Linked DNA regions of Homo sapiens: region 1 is linked to region 2. The links are contacts of gene promoters, found by promoter capture Hi-C in human tissues and cell types (Jung and others, 2019). All regions are on one chromosome and are shown on one strand. The core of a region is centred on a gene start or on the middle of the fragment in contact, and the rest is flanking DNA. Distances in the headings are between cores, read along the strand shown. Region 1 holds the start of TOR1B (torsin family 1 member B). Region 2 holds the start of CRAT (carnitine O-acetyltransferase).

Region 1 (4,027 bases), core at 1,188-3,687, 690 kb before region 2:
CTGACTGCCCCTTCTCACCAACTGCACTGCTGGGGATGTGGAATCCCTTCACTCACCAGAGAAGGTGGCTACCATGTCAACTGGGAGTTGGGAGGTTTTGGTTCTGCTACAAAGGTCCTGTTCTGCTACAAAGATTGTAGGAGTAAGTCACCTTGCCTCTGGGCTCCAGGCTCCATCTTTTTTTTTTTTCTTTTTTTTTGAGACAGAGTCTCATTCTGTTGCCCAGGCTGGGGTGCAGTGGCCCATTCTCAGCTGACTGCAACCTCAGCCTCCCAAGTAGCTTGAATTACAGGCGCACGCCATCACGCCCGGCTAATTTTGTATTTTCAGTAGAGACGGGGTTTCTCCATGTTGGTCAGGCTGGTCTCGAACTCCCGACCTCAGGTGATCCGCCCGCCTTGGCGGATCCCAAAGTGCTGGGATTACAGGCGTGAGCCACTGCACCTGGCCCTGACTACATCTCTCTTTTTTTTTTTTTTTTCTGAGACAGAGTCTCACTGTGTCGCCCAGGCTGGAGTGCAGTGGCGCGATCTCGGCTCAGTGCAAGCTCCGCCTCCCGGGTTCAGGCCATTCTCCTGCCTCAGCCTCCCGAGTAGCTGGGACAACAGGTGCCCGCCACCATCCCCGGCTAATTTTTTGTATTTTTAGTAGAGACGGGGTCTCACCGTGTTAGCCAGGATGGTCTCCATCTCCTGACCTCGTGATCCGCCCCCCTCGGCCTCCGAAAGTGCTGGGATTACAGGCGTGAGCCACTGTGCCAGGCCTTTTTTTTTTTTTTTTTTTTGAGACCGAGTACGGTGGCGCGATCTCAGCTCACTGCAACCTCTGCCACCCAGGTTCAAGCGATTCTCCTGCCTCAGCCTCCCAAGTAGCTGGGATTACAGGTGCGTGCCACCGTGCTCAGGTAATTTTGGTACTTTTAGGTAGAGATGGGGTTTCACCATGTTGGCCAGGCTGGTCTCAAACTCCTGGCCTCAAATGATCCGCCCGCCTCGGCTTCCCCAAAATGCTGGGATTACAGGCGTGAGCCACGGCGCCAGGCCCTTGGCTCCCCATCTTTTAATGGAAATAACATCCCCTACCCCACTGGACTGTTTTGGAACCAAGTAAGAGAAATGTTGTAGGAGAGCTTTGTAACTACCTGGACTAAGTGTGCCTTAACTCAGTGGAGCCGGGGGCTACAGCAACACAAAGGAAAGAGAAGCAGAGGCCAGAGTTAGTGAGCAGGTCACCCGGACCAGTCCGACTGGCCTGCAGACGAGATAATAGCGGGTTCTCTTGCCTGGTACAGTTTTATCTTCTGCTCATGAGGGAAGTGCAGAGTCGATACAAACAGGTGGACAAAGTTACTCTTCAGACCTTTTGGGTGAAGATTTTCAGCCACAATTTGACTGACAAAATTCTTGCCTGTGCCAGCCCAGCCGTGTAAGGAAAGGGTCAGTGGTTTCTTGGGATTTTTGTTGTTCCTGAAGCCAGTCAGCGCCTTGAAAATCACTTCCGTGGCTAGATGCTGTCCAAACAGCTTCTCCTCCAAATCCAGCTTGAGAGCTGCAAGAACAGCCCCAGAACAAAGAGAGAAACAGACCTTAAAAATGCATCAGCAACGCAGCACTTTCTTAGCTGGCCAAAGCAAGAAGCACAGATTATCCAGGGACACAGCAGGGTGTCTGCCACACCCTAGGGCCGAGGCAGTCAAACGATGCCACTTTCAAGATTATGTGGAGGTCCTTAACGCTTCGGGGTCTGATAAGGAAGCTAAATGTTCATTCATTCAGAGATGAACCATCGCTTGACTGAGCGCTTGCTAATCCCAGCCACCCTTGCTGACCTGCAGGAAAACCAGGGGCCAAATGTGGGCTTTCTGGGCGACGCAGCACGTCTGAAAACTACTTAATAGGGTTGGCAGGGCGCAGAAGGGCCGCCCGCCTACTTTCCGTTTCTTCCACCTGTGATCCCAAGGAACGGGAGCTTTAGAAAGGCGCTGGGGCAGCCCCACGATCTGGAGACTGTTTGCGAAGGCACCGCTTCTGCGTTCCCGCGAACGGTTCCGGGGCCGCCCCATCCGCTCCCCGCCCACCCCAGCTGGGACCACCGCCGTCTAGATGCCACGGGCCCGGTCCGTGCCAGGCGCCCACGAGGCCGTCCCTCCGCGCCCCCGCGCCCCCGCGCCCCCCGCAGCGCCGACCCACAGCTCGCGCGCGCGCCGTACCCGAAGCGTTGAGCGGCCGCTCCTCGCGGCAGCACTCGGCGAAGCGGCAGTAGATGTCATTGTAGGACAGGTAGCCGGTGATGGCCGACGCGGCCCCGATGGCTAGGCCCACGGTGATGGGCTCGAACGCCGCCACCACTCGGGCCGCCAGCAGCAGCGCCAGCGCCGCCGCGCCCCGGAGCCACCCAGCCCGCAACATCCCGCTCCTCGAAGCCCGCAGAAGCCACTGAGCCAGGCGCCCCGCGGCCAAGCGGCAGGACGGACTTCCTCTCGTGCGTCACTTCCGCCCCGCAGACCCGCCCACTCCCTTGGGGGCGGCCATGTTGGTGAGGGGCGGAGAGGAGGGCGGTGCCATCGTTCTTGGGAGTGGTCCGAAGGTGTAGGAGACTGTTTTGTTTCCCTTTTCTTTTAAAAAAATTTTTTCGGGCCGGGCGCGGTGGCTCACGCCTGTAATCCCAGGACTTTGGGAGGCCGAGCCGAGATCACGCCATTGCACTCCAGCCTGGGCAACAAGAGTGAAAAAATATCTAAAAAAAAAAAAAAAAATTTTTTTTTTTTGGCCGGGCGCCGTGGCTCACGCCTGTAATCCCAGCACTTTGGGAAGCTGAAGCGGGCGGATCACCTGATGTCAGGAGTTCGAGACCAGCCTGCTCAACGTGGCGAAACCCCGTCTCTACTAAAAATACAAAAAATTAGATGGGTGTGGTGGCGGGCGCCTGTAATCCCAGCTACTCGGGAGGTTGAGGCAGGAGAATCTCTTGAACCCAGGAGGCGGAGGTTGCAGTTAGCCGAGATCGTGCCACTGCACTCCAGCCTGGGCGACAAGAGCGAAACTGTCTCAAAAAAAAAAAAAAAGGCTGGCCGGGCGCGGCGGCTCACGCCTGTAATCCCAGCACTTTGGGAGGCCGAGGCAGGCGGATCACGAGGTCAGGAGATCAAGACCATCCTGGCTAACACAGTGAAATCCCATCACTACGAAAAATAGAAAAAATCAGCCGGGCATGGTGGCGGGCGCCTGTAGTCCCAGCTACTCGGGAGGCTGAGGCAGGAGAATGGCGTGAACCTGGGAGGCGGAGCTTGCAGTGAGCCGAGATCGTGCCACTGCACTCCAGCCTGGACGACAGAGCGAGACTCCGTCTCAAAAAAAACAAAAAAAAGCCAAAAAAAATTTTTTTAAACTTTCTTATATTTTTTTCTTATCTGATATGTATATTGGGGACAGGGTCTGGCTCTGTCGCCCCGGCTGGAGCGCAGTGGCAGGATCTCGGCTCGCTGCAAACTCTTCCTCCCAGGTTCAAGCGATTCTCCCATCTCAGCTGCTGGAGTAGCTGGGATTATAGGTGCCCGCCAACACGCCCAGCCAACTTTTGTGTTTTTAGTAGAGACGGGGTTTCGCCATGTGGCCCAAGCTGGTCTCGAACTCCTGACCTCAAGCGATCTACCTGCCTCCGTCTTCCAAAGCCTGGGGTTACAGGAGTGGGCTTATGGCTGGATTTGTTTTCTTCAGAGCTTCTCGGAGCCCTCAAGCTTTGCTTTGTTATCCCTCCCTTCACTTCGCCGGAGGTATAATGTGCGTTTCTTGGGTCGGCCCACCCGCCTGCCTTCTTCCTGAAACAGTTGCGAACTCTCCGTGCTGCGCCCTAGACTGAGCACTGGGGATGCAGCGGCCCCAAGACAGACCTGCCCAGGCTTCCACACTGAAATCCCGAGGTCCATTCTTTCATTCAGCACGCTAGGTGGCAGGCCCCTTGCTGGATGCCAGGAACGACAGCAGAGGAGGGGACGGAGTTGGCCCCTGCCCTCTCAGAGCTGACGGTC
Region 2 (4,461 bases), core at 1,732-4,231:
CTAGCTCTCTCGCCCAGGCTGGGGTGCAGTGGCTGGAGTGCAGTGGAGCAATCTCGGCTCACTGCAACCTCCGCCTCCTGGGTTCAAGTGATTCTCCTGCCTCAGCCTCCCGAGTAGCTGCGATTACAGACGTGTGCCACCACACCCAGCTAATTTTTGTATTTTGAATACAGACGGGGTTTTGCCATGTTGGCCATGGCTGGTCTCGAACTCCTGACCTCAAGTGATCCGCCTGTGTCGGCCTCCCAAAGTGCTGGGATTACAGGTGTGAGCCACTGTGCCCGGAGTCATCACCAGAACTTCTAAGGCTAGCTTGTTCAACCCACAGCCCAGGACAGCTTTGAATGTAGCCGGACACAAATTTGTAAACTTTCTTAAAACATAGGCCAGGCACGGTGGCTCATGCCTGTAATCCCAGCACTTTGGAAGGCCGAGGCAGGAGGATCACGAGGTCAGGAGTTCGAGACCAGCCTGGCCAATATGGTGAAACCCTGTCCCTATTAAAAATACAAAAATTAGCCAGGCATGGTGGCGCACCTGTAGTCCCAGCTACTCAGGAGGCTGAGGCAGGAGAATCGCTTGAACCCGGGAGGCAGAGGGTGCAGTCAGCCGAGACCATGCCACTGCACTTCAGCCTGGGGGACAGAGTGAGACACTGTCTCAAAAAAAAGAAACACAAAACCATTATGAGATTTTTTTTTTTGCGACTTTTTTTTTAGCTCATCAGCCATCGTTAGTGTTAGTGTATTTTATGTGTGACCCAAGACAATTCTGCTTCCAATGTGGCTTAGAGAAGCCAAAAGAGTGGACACCCCGGTTTTTTTTTTGGGGGGTGACGGAGTTTCACTCTTGTTGTCCAGGCTGGAGTGCAATGCCGCGATCTCAGCTCACCGCAACCTCTGCTTCCCAGGTTCAAGCGATTCTCCTGCCTCATCCTCCCTAGTAGTTGGGATTACGGGCGTGTGTCACCACGCCCGGCTAATTTTGTATTTTTAGAAGAGACGGAGTTTCTCCATGTTGGTCAGGCTGGTCTCGAACTCCCGACCTCAGGTGATCAGCCCGCCTCGGCCTCCCAAAGTGCTGGGATTACGGGCATGAGCCACCGCGCCTGGCCTGGACATCCTTGTTCTAAGGGCACACACCCAGAGGTTTTGTACAAAATAAATGTCTGGTTTTGAATGTCCTAAGAAACGGAACCCAGCTCTTTGTTCACCTCTTTTGTGGGGCATGGAGGGGATGCCTTTTCTGATTTTCAACATTTCTCCCTCCTGAGACCTTCCCAGGGACCCCAACATTGGAGACAGGATAGCAAGAATATCAAATGCTTTCAAAACATTAGCTGTGTTTGGTCGGCCAACCTATTTGCCTCTGTCGGGAATGTAAAAGTTATCTATGGCCAGTCCTTCTTAGTTCAAGGTAGGTCGGCAAACAGCCTTCTCCTTCTGCACAAAAAGGGTCTCTAAGATCCTTCCGTAGCACCTCCATCCCAGTTATTTAAGATGAACTAAAAAGAGGCTACAAGGTAAATAAGAGTTACCGAAGGAGATGCCGGAGAGACTAACCTCCTTGCACAACCAGCCTTTTAAAATTAGGGATTTAGACACCACGGGCAGTTTCCCTCAATAAATTCTCAGGCACTGGAACCAGAGAGTAGGAGGATGAGGGGTGAGCAGGACGCGGAGGCCGAAACTGGAGGCGAGGCGGGCGCAGGCCCACGGAGCACCACCCCATCCCCTAAGCAGCGACTAATAAAGACGGCAGCCTCCGGAATCACTTTCGCCCCCCTCCCTGGCAGCTTCCCCACCGAGTCAGCAGCTTACTTAAGCACGCGCTGCCCAGAGATGCAAAAGGCCCCCTTATGACCACGGCGCTGCCCACCCAGCATTCGGGCAGCCTGGACTCCCACAAAACCCAGAGTTGCGCCCCAATCACCACCCCTTTGCAGCCCCTGGTTCCCTCCCCAGCGGCGCCCCACCACCCACCTCTCCCCTAAGGCCATTCAACTCAGTCCCTCCTCGGGGCCCCTCAGCTTTTGCCCCTCCAGTTCCTCCGTGTCATGACTCTCGCCCTCCTGAGCCTCCCACACCTGGCACCGCCCCCACCCTACCCGACCCCGGCCCGGCCTGGCCCCGCCGGCCTTACCTGGCGGCGGCTGCCGCTCGCCCTCAGCCATCTTGCTCCGGCCAGGAGCCGACCCGGATGCTTGCAGTCCCCTCTCGCCTTTCACTCTTGCACCCACCCTTCCTCTCCCCGGCTCCACCAAAGGCTCCGAGCTTCCTGAAGACAAGTGAGCGCCGGCCGGCTATAACCGAAAACCGAGAGTTAAAGTCACCACAGCGAAGACGGCCGCCATGTCGGTGCGGGGCGCTCAGGGAGCAAGCCTATTAACGGCCGGCGCGCGGCGGACGCGCGGAACCGGGCGACGGCCATGTCAGTGCGGGGCGCGCGGGGCGCATGCGCGCCAACGGCCGCCAAGCGCTAGGACCGCTCACGGCCGCCCGAACGTCGGGCGCCGCGACTGCCACGATTGTGCGGGGCGTCAAGTTTGGGTTGTGCTCAGCCATGTTTTTCCGGGACAGTCTCCTGTCCCGGAGTACCACCTGTCATCTTTGTGGGTGGTACTGACCCTAACCCAAGGAATATTAGAGGACATTCCCCGGTCAACATGGTTGTGTTTTCCTATCACTCTAAGAGTTAGGCTCAAGGACACCAGACGGAGTTGGAAAGGTGCACACCACTACCTCCAACAGCTTAGAAGACATGTGGGGACAGGGGAGAGACAGCTGGACGGTGACCTCCTCCTTCCTCCTCCACAGGTCTCAATGACTCGCCCTCGGCCCTGCCCCTCTGTCCCCGCCCGCCGTGGTCCCGCCCCCGACTCGCAGCCAGCCTACTGCGACCCGCTACCGGGCGACGCCCCGCCCCTCCGTCCCCGCCCCTCCTGTCCCTCCTCAAGGAGACTCCGCCCCATCGATGCCCCGTCCCCGCCCCACAGCCAACCTCCCGGGCACCGTTGCCCGCCCGGGGCCCGCTACCGGCCCAGGCCCCGCCTCGCGAGTCCTCCTCCCCGGGTGCCTTCCCGCAGCCCGCTCGGCCCAGAGGGTGGGCGCGGGGCTGCCTCTACCGGCTGGCGGCTGTAACTCAGCGACCTTGGCCCGAAGGCTCTAGCAAGGACCCACCGACCCCAGCCGCGGCGGCGGCGGCGCGGACTTTGCCCGGTGTGTGGGGCGGAGCGGACTGCGTGTCCGCGGACGGGCAGCGAAGATGTTAGCCTTCGCTGCCAGGACCGTGGTGAGTGCGGCGGATCCCGGGCCTGAGGGCCCTGGACGGCCTGGGCGGGCCGTGCGGTTGCGTCCGGGAACGGAGACCGCGTCCTGCGGCCGCTGTTCGACCCGGCCTCCAGCTGATGGGGTGGGGTCAGGCGGGCGTCCCAGGTTTGGCAGAGCAGGAGATTGGGGCGCAAGGTCAGAAGCGGGATTAAACCCACGTCCTGGAGCATTCAGTTCCAACGACCCAGGAAAGACAAGGGGGACCCCGGCTTCAGTTAGCACCCCCACCCTTAGACCCAGAGACAGGCCGGTAGGGGAGAGAGACCAGGAGCATCCAGACCCTAGCTCACTCTCCCAGTTATTCTCCGATTGACACACCCGTCGCACGCTTAGGCCAGAGCCACTCCTCCGACCCTGTCCAGTTGGTCACACTCCTTTGGTTTATCAGACGGTCCCTGGGGAATTGTGTGTGGCCAGAGAAACACGCGGAGGCATCAAGCTAGAAAGGCCTCAGAACTGGCAGGTGGCAGCCCCATGGTCTCCCTCCCCTCCAGCCCCCTTCCCCACCCTGGCTGTATCCTTCCCTCCAGCCCCCTTCCCCACCCTGGCTATATCCTCCCCTCTAGCCCCCTTCCCCACCCTGGCTATATCTACCCCTCAGTCCTCCCCGGTGAGCAGCCCGGATGCTAGCCTAATTTCAGTCCCTTCCGTCCCTGATCCAAGCATATGTTGCTGGTGTCTCACTCTGTCTCAGACACACACTACGGGGCCAGAGGGCGGAGGGTGCATCCAGGCTCAGGCCTAGAGGCTCTTTTAGGTGTTGCAACACCCTGAGCCTCCACCGCACCCTTGTCACTGTCTCCCAAGCTGCATCCATCCCACAAACAGCCTCTAGATCATCCTCCAGGACCATCCGACTGGACTGGTTACCTTCCTGCAGGGAAACTGAGGCAAGGAGGGACTTGCCCAGAGTCCCCTGGACCTGCTCATTCAAATCCAGCCCAATCCCAGTGTCCTTTGGTTTATTTTTCATACCAAAAGTCCTCCGCTCTTGGACCCTAGCTGAATGAGCCACAGCTCAGGAAAAAATGAGTGTTCGTAGAGGGATGGCTCAGATGGGTCCCAGGAGTCCTGGAGAGAAACAGGAAATAGGCAGGGCTTCTGGCTGTCCCATCCACTGATGGCCTTTTCC

What was found. The method cuts DNA at HindIII sites, captures the fragments that hold promoters and counts their contacts. A contact is called where the count stands out against the background at its distance.
Region 1: the fragment with the promoter of TOR1B here is called in contact with the fragment with the promoter of CRAT in region 2 in 6 of the 25 tissues and cell types used here (H1 embryonic stem cells, aorta, dorsolateral prefrontal cortex and 3 more).

What each region holds. Positions count from the first base shown.
Region 1 is chr9:129,801,594-129,805,620 of GRCh38, reverse strand. It overlaps TOR1B (torsin family 1 member B), which reads right to left and starts at 2,437. Exons shown (of 5, transcript NM_014506.3): 1 at 2,210-2,437; 2 at 1,283-1,548. The coding sequence starts at 2,408. RefSeq lists silencers at 2,048-2,167, 2,228-2,357. The HindIII fragment of the contact is 20,911 bases long and covers 1-4,027 here.
Region 2 is chr9:129,109,313-129,113,773 of GRCh38, reverse strand. CRAT (carnitine O-acetyltransferase) reads left to right here and starts at 2,981. Exons shown (of 14, transcript NM_000755.5): 1 at 2,981-3,291. The coding sequence starts at 3,265. PTPA (protein phosphatase 2 phosphatase activator) reads right to left here and starts at 2,359. Exons shown (of 10, transcript NM_178000.3): 1 at 2,143-2,359. The coding sequence starts at 2,173. RefSeq lists silencers at 2,046-2,095, 2,786-3,225 and enhancers at 1,623-2,163, 2,096-2,375. The HindIII fragment of the contact is 22,449 bases long and covers 1-4,461 here.